2 separate regions of the Homo sapiens genome follow, and region 2 is linked to region 1. The links are contacts of gene promoters, found by promoter capture Hi-C in blood cells and fetal thymus (Javierre and others, 2016). All regions are on one chromosome and are shown on one strand. The core of a region is centred on a gene start or on the middle of the fragment in contact, and the rest is flanking DNA. Distances in the headings are between cores, read along the strand shown. Region 1 holds the start of LACRT (lacritin). Region 2 has its middle 33 kb from the start of OR9K2.

Region 1 (5,269 bases), core at 2,352-4,851:
CAGTGGCACAATCTCGGCCCACTGCAATCTCTGCCTCACGGGCTCAGGTGATCCTCCCACCTTAGCCTCCCAAGTAGCTGGGACTACAGGCATGTGCCACCACGCCTGGCTAATTTTTGTATTTTTTTGTAGAGATGGGGTATCGCCATGTTGCCCAGGCTAGTCTTGAACTCCTGGGCTCAAGCGATCCACCTGCCTTGGCCTCCCAAAGTGCTGGGATTACAGGCGTGAACCACCGTGCCCAGCTGGCAATTTGAATCTGGATGAGAAATTGGAAACATATGAAAGCACAAAGTGAGGGGTCTTCAACAGCAGGGGCTGTGGCAATTCCAAGTCTCATATGTGAGGTGGAAATGGGGGCAAGTTCTGTCCCATATCCCACCCCCGGATGGTGGGTGGTGAGTATTCTCATTCCCACAAAGCCTTGCCTTGGGATGCACTCACTTTCGATGAATTGTTTTCCACCTGGCACGCCTCCGTGCATTCCTTTTCCTGCTTTTGCAAGGGCTTGTTCTGTTAGTAAGATACTTTTCTCCACTATGGATTCTAATTTTGGAGCAGAACAATCACATCAGCAGAAAAATCACCTCATTTAAAGAGAACTCTGCATTGCCCCACCTGCACCCGCCCCCCACCCCCACTCCACCCAGGACATCATCCCTACAGAAAGTCCTAAAGTGCAGAAGTTTTGCTGAGGGCTCCAGCACTTCTCTCATAGGAAGTTGTGTGAGCCAGGACAGAAACCATGTATTGTGCAGGCTGCAACATCTACTATTGTGAAAACGTTGTGTGTGGGTGCAATGCACAATCCCATTTGTGCCTTTGTGTTCAGCTGTTTGAGTCTACCTGCTTCTCACCAGGCTTATCTCTGTGCGTGGAGGTGTGATGTGGGCCTGCAGCCAGAGACTTTTCTAGGTTGTTGATCTGGCATAGAGACAGAGACTTACTCAGGGGGTTTAGTTCCTGCCTGCTTGAGGTGACCTTGGCTGTCCCCTGAACTGCTGCCGCCGAAGTCTCCTGGGCTGTTGTGGTTGTCTCTGGGGGTGAAGCTGGTTCTGCTGGACCTGAGATCTCTTCATTAGGCTTAGCTGTGAATGCACAAATTGATGGATTTTAGCAAAGTGAAAGTGTTTGTTTCTTTTGGAATGGGTTGCAGGGCCCCAGGATACCTAATGTGTGCTGGGTGCCAGGATACAGAAGTGATATGGCTTAAACGCTGCCCCCTTAAGGGAGATAGCATTTCTGCATGCTGTGTGTCTCTTGGAATGCAGCGGGCAGGGTTGGGGAAGGATTTGGACTAGGGGATGGTGAGAATCGGGGAGCACTTCATAGAGAAGCTGGATCTTGAAGGCAGGATGTTAGCAGGAGAGGATGTACCAAAGGGGCTTCCCTGGGGGCAGGCAGTGAGTAAGAGGTCAGGCGAAGGCATGTGTGGGGAATGGAAACAAGTTCAATTTAGCTGATGTGGGTGCGACATAAAAGAGAGTCATGGAAAATGGGGTTGGAAAATGAGGTTAGAGGCCAGATAATGGTTATCTTGCTAAGGAATTGGGAGTAATGGGAGGTGTTTGCAGGTGAAGGTATTAATGCCATGTGAGACATTGCCCTTACCACTTAACCTCATGTTTCTCTCCCTTTTATTCACAATAACCTTTTCCCCATGCTCCCTATTGTCCTTGCCTCTCTGGGTCATCCTCTTTTGTCCTTAGCCTTGTACCATTTCAACCCATGCCACCTTCTTTATTATATTACCTGCCCCTCCCCATTACCACCAAGCACAGAATCCAGATCTCCTCCCACTGGCTTCTTCTCCCAGCCACCACTCACATCCCTAACTGTTAAACCTTCCCAACGAGGGCTAGGGCAGCAGGGAGAGGAGGACTCACAGGTCCCAGCTTCCTGGGCAGGATCAGCACCCGTCGAGTCAGAGGAGGCATCTTCTGCAATGGGGGAAACATGCCAGATGAGAGCAAGGACCGAACCGGACCTACTCGAGCCACCCTCCCCTCCCATTCCCAAAGCTTATCTCCTGGGAATGCTCATGGATAGAAGGGGATCAATTTCCCTTTGGGTTGGACATGCCCTTCCACCATATCAGCGGGTCTACTGGGGCACTCTCTGATGTTTAACTCCTGTGGCTTTTGAAATAACTTCCCCTCTGAGAAGTGTAATGTCTCTTGGAACAGTGCCTTCCTCCTGACTGGCCCCTGGCTTGGTAGGCTTCCCTGAGGTGTCTGTCATGGAGCTGGCCATGGTCAGAGGGGCTCAACCTCCTCTGTGGTGGAGGAGGACAGTATGTGGGGGTTATGGGGCCATATTTGAGCGATTTGCAGGATTGAGACCCCAGCCTTGATTCCCTTTATTCTTTCAACACAACATTTATGCAAAGCTCTGTGCCAAGAGATGGAGGTGCAGTGCTGAAGAGGGCAGACAAGACCCCTGCCCTGACAGAGCTTACATCTGTCCTTTTACGAAATTATTTAATGGCTGGTGTGACAGTGCTGGAAGGGAACGTGCAGCCTGGTGCGAGAAGGGCACATGGATCTGATTTGTTCCGCATGTGCATGGAAGGCCTTTTTGGGGAATTATATGTAAACTGAGATTTTCTAGATGAAAAATCATTGGCCAGGTGACATTAGAGTTGGTTGGGGGAAGGGGCCAGGGAGAGGGAAAGCATTCTAGACGAGGAAAGGACAAGAAGGAAGATCCTGATGTTCAAGGAACAGCAGGATCATCATGGCCCAAATAGTGCTTCTGTGGATCAAAAAAGGCATCCCAGCAGGGCACGGTGGCTCACGCCTGTAATTCCAACACTTTGGGAGGCCAAGGCAGTCGGATCACCTGAGGTCAGGAGTTCGAGACCAACCTGGCCAACATGGTGAAACACCGTCTCTACTAAAAATACAAAATTAGCTGGGCAAGGTGGCATGAGCCTGTAGTCCCAGCTACCCAGGAGGCTGAGGCAAGATAATCGCTGGAACCCAGGAGGTGGATGTTGCAGTGAGCAGAGATCGTGCCACTGCACTCCAGCCTGGGCAACAGAGGGAGACTCGGTCTCAAAAAAAAAAAAAAAAAAAAGGCATCCCTTCCTCCTAAGAGACACAGCCAGGGGCCAGGCTCACTGCTTGGCAAGTAGAGTGTCGGCCAGATTTTAGCTTCTACCACTCCTTGCCTGGGCACCCTCGTGTAGGGGACACCCTGCTCAACTACATGCAGGGGACACCAGAGAAGCCAGTGTAGCTGAGGCATAGTGGGTAAACAATGGTGTGTGAGGAGATGAGCTGGGAGGGCAGGCAGAGGCCAGAGAGTTCTGGGTTCCTCTGGCCAGTGGGGTGCAGAGGCCACGTGTGGAGAACTGGGAGAGGAGTCACTTGCAGAGGCAGGGAAACCAGAATAGCACTGAGAGAGGAGGAGAGGGGTGAAGGCAGGAGTGAGGGGCTCCTTGGACTGGGAGGACTCTTGTGGGGCGCAGAGGAAAGGCCATACTCACCAGCATAGACCAGGGCCCCTGCTACAGCTGCCAAGAAGAGGAGAGTGGTAAATTTCATTCTTTGGGATGAGGAGTGAGTATAACCACAGAATCTGCAGAAGGTCTGGGGAATAAGGATGCTGAAATTGCTGGGCCCTTTTAAGGATATCAAGGGCCAATGGGAACCAAGCCTGGAGAGGTGTGACTTCCGCATCCTCCTCCCCTTCTTCCCCAAACTGTCACCTGCTAAGTCAACAAGGGCTAGGTTGGGCTGGCTGATACCTGGGATCCTTGCAGGCAGGTCCTGGATAGGAGCCTTTCTCTAACTCCCAGCCATCCCTTTTCTTTCTCCCTCCTCCCTTCCCCACCACACCTGCCCTCTGGGTTCACACCCCTGGGCTCTCAGGGACGGTAGGTAGAGCACATTTCACTTGGGGAGATTCTGGGATGTGTCTGTTGAGGGTTCTGGTAGAGAAATCTTAATCTTGTCATCTCTCCAGGAGGAGGTTGAGGGCTCAGGGGATTACATTGTCCACCTTCTGTCCCAGTCTACATAGGACTCAGTGCAGGGTTTGAAGGTTTCCCCAAACTAAGTGAGCCCGTTTCCTTGGGAGACCACACCTAGAACACTTGAGGCCTGAGTTCCTGGCTGCTTTCTCCCCATGAGGGGATGGGTTTGAAGGCGTGTGTGCCTTCTCTGGAGTTGTTCTCTGTTCTTGACATTATCCAGCCCCTAAAAAGAACTCCTCCAGGCTCACATAGGCCTGTCAATCTCTGTCTTCAGGCCTACTCAATGGGACCCCACATTTCTGAGAGAATCTCCTGGTCAAAGCATGATGGTGGTTCACTGAAATTGGAGCTTGGTTCTGACTTCAAGTGGGGAGCTGACCCATGGTGTGAATAATCCAGAAAAGCAGATTATTCTAAAGAAGCTTCTCTTTGACTTGGCGTTTCTTCCTTTCCTGATCTGGGACTCTAGAGGTCTGGATTTTGAGTTCTGGCTTTGTCATATGAAAATGTTAGGATTTGAAAAGTGATAGGATTTTTATTTGTTGTCTAGGAGTTGTGGCTCCTATGTACAGCATAGTGGTGGAGATTAAGTGGGATAATATACGGCAAAGCATTTTTTTAGACAGCGAAGTTCTATGGAGTTGTGTGGGGTTCTTGTACCATCTTTCCAAGTAGGTTTTTGTCCAGGCTGGTGCTAAATGCTAGATATTAATAGAACGGGCCGTGGAGCAGGAGTCAGTTGAGGGGCTGAAGGGTGGAGAATAAGGTGCTGGATGTCAATTTGTGACTTTCCCCTTGCTTGGTGTTGGCATTCACCCAGCCCCATGTGGGCTGATTCCGGAGGCTTCTCTGCCTCATGGTAGCTCTGAAGATGAGTGTGAGAAGGGGGTATTGAAGAGTTTTCAACATGAGGGTGTTTTGGGTGCCAGGGTTTAGAACATTAATCTTTTCAGGAGATAAAGGAAGATAAAATTAATGGGGTGGGACATTAAAGCCTTGGCAATTGCTACCTGCCTGAGGGTCTGGGCCTGGGAGCCTTGAAGGTGGTGGTGGCCTTACCTGGAATGGGGAAGGCTGAAGAACAAGAGAAAGTTTTGATGGCACCAGTGCCCTGGGTATGTGCACATACGTGTGTGCACGTGTGTGTACACTGCAGAAGGAGAAGTCCTGCAGATCCCAAACAGATCTAGATCCCGAGCAGTCTCCATGAGCACATTAAAAAAGTCAACAGGAGCAAATTATGCTATTTGCACAAGACTTTTCTAAGAGGAAATGAGAACTTTGGCGTCA
Region 2 (4,853 bases), core at 599-3,098, 520 kb after region 1:
TTTTTGGTGTGGATGTCCTTTCTGTTTGTTAGTTTTCCTTCTAACAGACAGGACCCTCAGCTGCAGGTCTGTTGGAGTTTGCTAGAGGTCCACTCCAGACCCTGTTTGCCTGGGTATCAGCAGCGGTGGCTGTAGAACAGCATATATTGGTGAACTGCAAATGCTGCTGTCTCATCATTCCTCTGGAAGTTTTGTCTCAGAGGAGTACCTGGCTGTGTGAGGTGTCAGTCCGCCCCTACTGGGGGGTGCCTCCCAGTTAGGCTACTCGGGGTTCAGGGACCCACTTGAGGAGGCAGTCTGCCTGTTCTCAGATCTCAAGCTGCATGCTGGGAGAACCACTACTCTCTTCAAAGCTGTCAGAGAGGTACATTTAAGTCTGCAGAGGTTACTGCTGTCTTTTTGTTTGTCTGCGCCCTGCCCTGAGAGGTGGAGCCTACAGAAGCAGGCAGGCCTCCTTGAGCTGTGGTGGGCTCCACCCAGTTCGAGCTTCCAGGCTGCTTTGTTTACCTAATCAAACAACTAACTTGGCAATGGTGGGCGCCCCTCCCACAGCCTGGCTGCCACCTTGCAGTTTGATCTGGGACTGCTGTGCTAGCAATGAGTGAGACTCTGTGGGCGTAGGACCCTCCAAGCCATGTGCGGGATATAATCTCCTGGTGTGCCATTTTTTAAGCCTGTTGGAAAAGCACAGTATTAGGGTGGGAGTGACCCAATTCTCCAGGTGCCATCTGTCACCCCTTTCTTTGACTAGGAAAGGGAATTCCCTGACCCCTTTCGCTTCCCAGGTGAGGCGATACATCGCCCTGCTTCGGCTCACGCATGGTGCGCTGCACCCACTGTCCTGCACCTACTGTCTGGCACTCCCCTGTGAGATGAACCCAGTACCTCAGTTGGAAATGCAGAAATCACCCCTCTTCTGCGTTGCTCACGCTGGGAGCTGTAGACCGGAGCTGTTCCTATTCCGCCATCTTGGCTCCTCAATTTTATGAAAATTTCTAAATAAAACTATGTAACTTCAAATATATTAAGTTTCTAGACAGAAAAAGCTTCTCTTTTGCTAATTCAGAAATTAAATGTAGTAATAAAACCATTGATTTATAATATAAAATTTATTTTTTCCACTTTAATTTAATGTTTTAGATATCTTAAAAATTATTAATGTTTTATCTCTGTGCCTCTTTAGTATTTACTATTAAGCATTAATAGTTAGAAAAATACAAAAAACAGAACCCATGCAATACAGAATTTCCACCCCCTCCCCCCACACTTATTTGCATTATTGTCTTGTGCTTTGTTAACAATATATAGAGGGGAAAACATTTCTTGTTGGGGAAGTTAATCTTATACCTAACCATAGTGTTCCTATATAAACAAAATAATTCATATGTCTATGGCAGTAAAAAGAAAAGGCATGCTGCAGTTTGGGTGCCAGAAAAGGGAGCCACCAGCATTCAGACACTAATAGTAAATGAAGGACCTGGAAGCTGAACAATATGTGGTTAATGTAGGGGATAAGAGTCTGATTTATTATTTTGAATGACATTCTCAAGACTAGTGGTTCATTCTACCTCATTAAACTATAACCCCATGTTTCCTAATGTCTTCTATGTAGCAGAATGTTTTAAGAACCAAATTAACTGCATTAATTATCTTGTAGTGGGGAAAGGAATTGACCTATGTTTTCACTCAGTTTTCCATTCTTAGAGCACAAGAAACTTTGTGTTTGTTTTTTTATTTATTTCACTGACGTGTATGTTTTTAAGATGTTTGTGTCATTATAAATATTGCTTTTCACACTCAATTTTGTGTAATCTTCACAGGTGCCTCCCATTTGGCAGAGGAGGACTTCTGAGGTATCAAAAGTGTAGATGGTTATCTTAGATTCTTTCATACTGAAAGATGTAAAATTTGGATGCAGCCCATATGACTCCAAAGCTCTTCACAAACAGCATAAAATGACTGATAATTTACTGCTGGAAATATCCCGTGCCCATTCAAATTTCTCACATAATACTAAAACTAAATAGACGGGAAAAACCTAAATAACCTTATTTTGATTTTACTGTGGTTGCTTCTAAATGTAAAACTATTCTATCAGATGCACTGCCAAGAAAACTCCAATTTGTATCAGCGTTTTTTTGTCTGTTTTTTCCCGTTGGCAACTTCAGGGACCAAAAGTTGACCAGGCTTCATTATAATCCACTCATTTTTCTCAGATAGGTCTTGGCTATGAAGAGCGAACTGAACAGGAATTACTCAGAGGTGACAGAGTTTATTCTGCTGGGATTCAGAACATCGCCAGAAGCACAGATTCTCTTATTCTTCCTGTTCTTGCTTATCTACATGGTCATTGTGTTGAGAAATCTCAGCATGTTAGTTGTCATTGAAATAGACTCCAGACTTCACACACCTGTGTATTTCTTTCTCAGAAATTTGTCCTATTTGGATCTCCGCTACTCCACAGTTATTGCTTCCAAAACTGACTACTTTATTTTCCAAGGAAAAGAAAATTTCTTACAATGGTTGAGCAACACAGTTGTTTTTCTTTGCTCTCTTTGTTGGGACTGAAGGTTTTTTTCTGGATATGATGGCATATGATCGCTTCTCAGCTATTTGTTCACCTTTCTTCTATACTGTATGTATGTCTCAGCAAGCTTGTGTTTGTTTGGTGGTTGGCTCCTCTATCTGTGGATGCATCAACTCCATGATACAAACAGGTTTTACCTTCAGTTTGCATTTCTGTGGAGAAAACAGATTAGAGCACTTTTTCTGTGATGTCTCAGTCATGATCAAGATCTCATGTATTGACATCCTTGTGAATGAGGTAGTACTGTTTATTCTCTCTGCTCTCATCACCACCACCACAACTGTCATTCTGGCTTCCTATGTGCATATCCTCTCCACTGTCCTGAAGATTCTCTCAACCCACGGCAGAAGGAAGACTTTCTCCACTTGCAGCTCTCACATCACTGTGGTGAGTTTATTCTATGGAACTGTATTCTTCATGTATGCCCAACCTGGGGCCATCTCCAAAGAGCAAGGTTATAGTTGTATTCTAAACTCTTGTCATCCCTATGTTAAATATCTGATTTATAGTCTAAGAAATAGGTGCAAAATGCTTTGAAAAGGACATTGATAAGAAAAATATCTTTTCATTGGCCTCTAGCCATCTATAAAACTATAGAAGCAACTAAGAGCAATACTATCAGTAATTTATTATAGAATAATTTCAAAGAAAAACATCTGAAAGTATGGAGATGAAAGTTTATTTTCGTGTTTTGACCATCAACAGATCCTTTTAAAAATGAATTAAAGGCCAGGCGTGGTGGCTCAAACCTGTAATCCCAGCACTTAGGGAGACCGAGGGGGGTGGATCATGAGGTCAGGAGATCGAGACCATCCTGGCCAACATGGTGAAACCGCGTCTCTACTAAAAATACAAAAAATTAGCTGGGCGTGGTGGCACGCACCTGCAGTCCCAGCTACTCGGGAGGCTGAGGCAGGAGAATCACTTGAACCCAGGAGGCGGAGGTTGCAGTGAGCCGAGATCGTGGCACTGCACTCCACCCTGGCAACAGAGCGAGACTCCATCTCAAAAAAAAAAAACAAAACAAAAGGAACTAAAAATCAATATAGATTTTTCATATTTCAACATAATTATTTTATGGTGTGCTGTCTAGGTATTCCATAGTTTGTTATTCTTGCTTCATTGTCTTAGTTGTACTCAAAACTGCAACTGAAATACAGTATTCACAAATTAATACATAAATACACGTTAAGTTTATTAATATATCTATATATGTATGAATATCTATATACTAATCTATTGGAGAGGGAAAAAGAGAGACACTACTTAACGTTCTTCAATATTTGTTTAATCTAGATCATAATCAAGTTGGCTATTGTACAACTTTTGCAAATGAGAATTAGAAATGCTATGGTAATCTAAATTATATAATGTAAATTATTGGCTTTGCCAAACCATTATGCAAAGGAGCAAGGCTAAATATTATACCAGTAATATTGCTAAAGCATCCACCTATATTAATGATTTCATCCAGAAGAAAAATAAGTAAATAAATAAATAAATGTGATATAGTTGCGGTAAAACTATCTTGTCATGGGGTTCAATAATAAATGTTTGATAAATAATCAGTATAATTTATGCTTATTGATCTATTAACTTTTATGTATGTTCTTGCATCACTTTTATAATTTATATATTGATTTGAAAATTTTTATTTTATTCTAGATTTGAACAATTATTACCATGTGTAAAATATTTTCTCAGATTAATAATAAAAATATTAACATAGTAAAGCCAAATAACCAAATCATAAATTTTAATTGACATAATAAAAGAAAATATTAATATCCTAAATTTTATTTTCTAATAATTTAATCCTTTCTATGTCTTTGGTTATATATACTTTTTATTTTTAATCCTGAGAATTTTATTTTTGTCCCTTAATTAAATTTGCCAGTGGTTTGACTTTATACCATTAGAATTTTGAGTTCTATATCATTATTTTCAAAGTAGTTGATGGTGTAATATCTAGTTATTGCATAAGTTTTTGTTTTTGTTTTGTTTTGCTTAAATACATTCAAAATTGCAACATATAACATCATAATTATATTAATACAAACATTAAAGTTATTATATCTGCATATGTATCTGTACATTCATGTAATTATTTTATGTTTCTAAGAGTTTTTGTTTTATTAGCCATCTTTTTTCTGCATTTAAACGTTAAATGCTTAGTATCTTATTTACAGTTTTTAATTTAATGAATTATGTTTAAAAGTTTTGAATAGTTTTCAGTGTAATTTATTTTAATTTTTATTATTGTATA

What was found. Contacts are between HindIII fragments. The CHiCAGO score rates a contact against its expected background, and 5 or more counts as called.
Region 2: a contact is called between a fragment that was not itself captured here and the fragment with the promoter of LACRT in region 1, in 1 of 17 cell types (activated CD4 T cells). The highest score is 7.4, in activated CD4 T cells.

The regions. Positions count from the first base shown.
Region 1 is chr12:54,631,294-54,636,562 of GRCh38, forward strand. LACRT (lacritin) reads right to left here and starts at 3,602. Exons shown (of 5, transcript NM_033277.2): 1 at 3,491-3,602; 2 at 1,887-1,940; 3 at 948-1,088; 4 at 445-546. The coding sequence starts at 3,548. The HindIII fragment of the contact is 2,380 bases long and covers 2,020-4,399 here.
Region 2 is chr12:55,156,618-55,161,470 of GRCh38, forward strand. It overlaps the pseudogene OR9R1P. Among named protein-coding and RNA genes, the nearest start is that of OR9K2, 33 kb to the left of the region's middle. The HindIII fragment of the contact is 1,608 bases long and covers 1,045-2,652 here.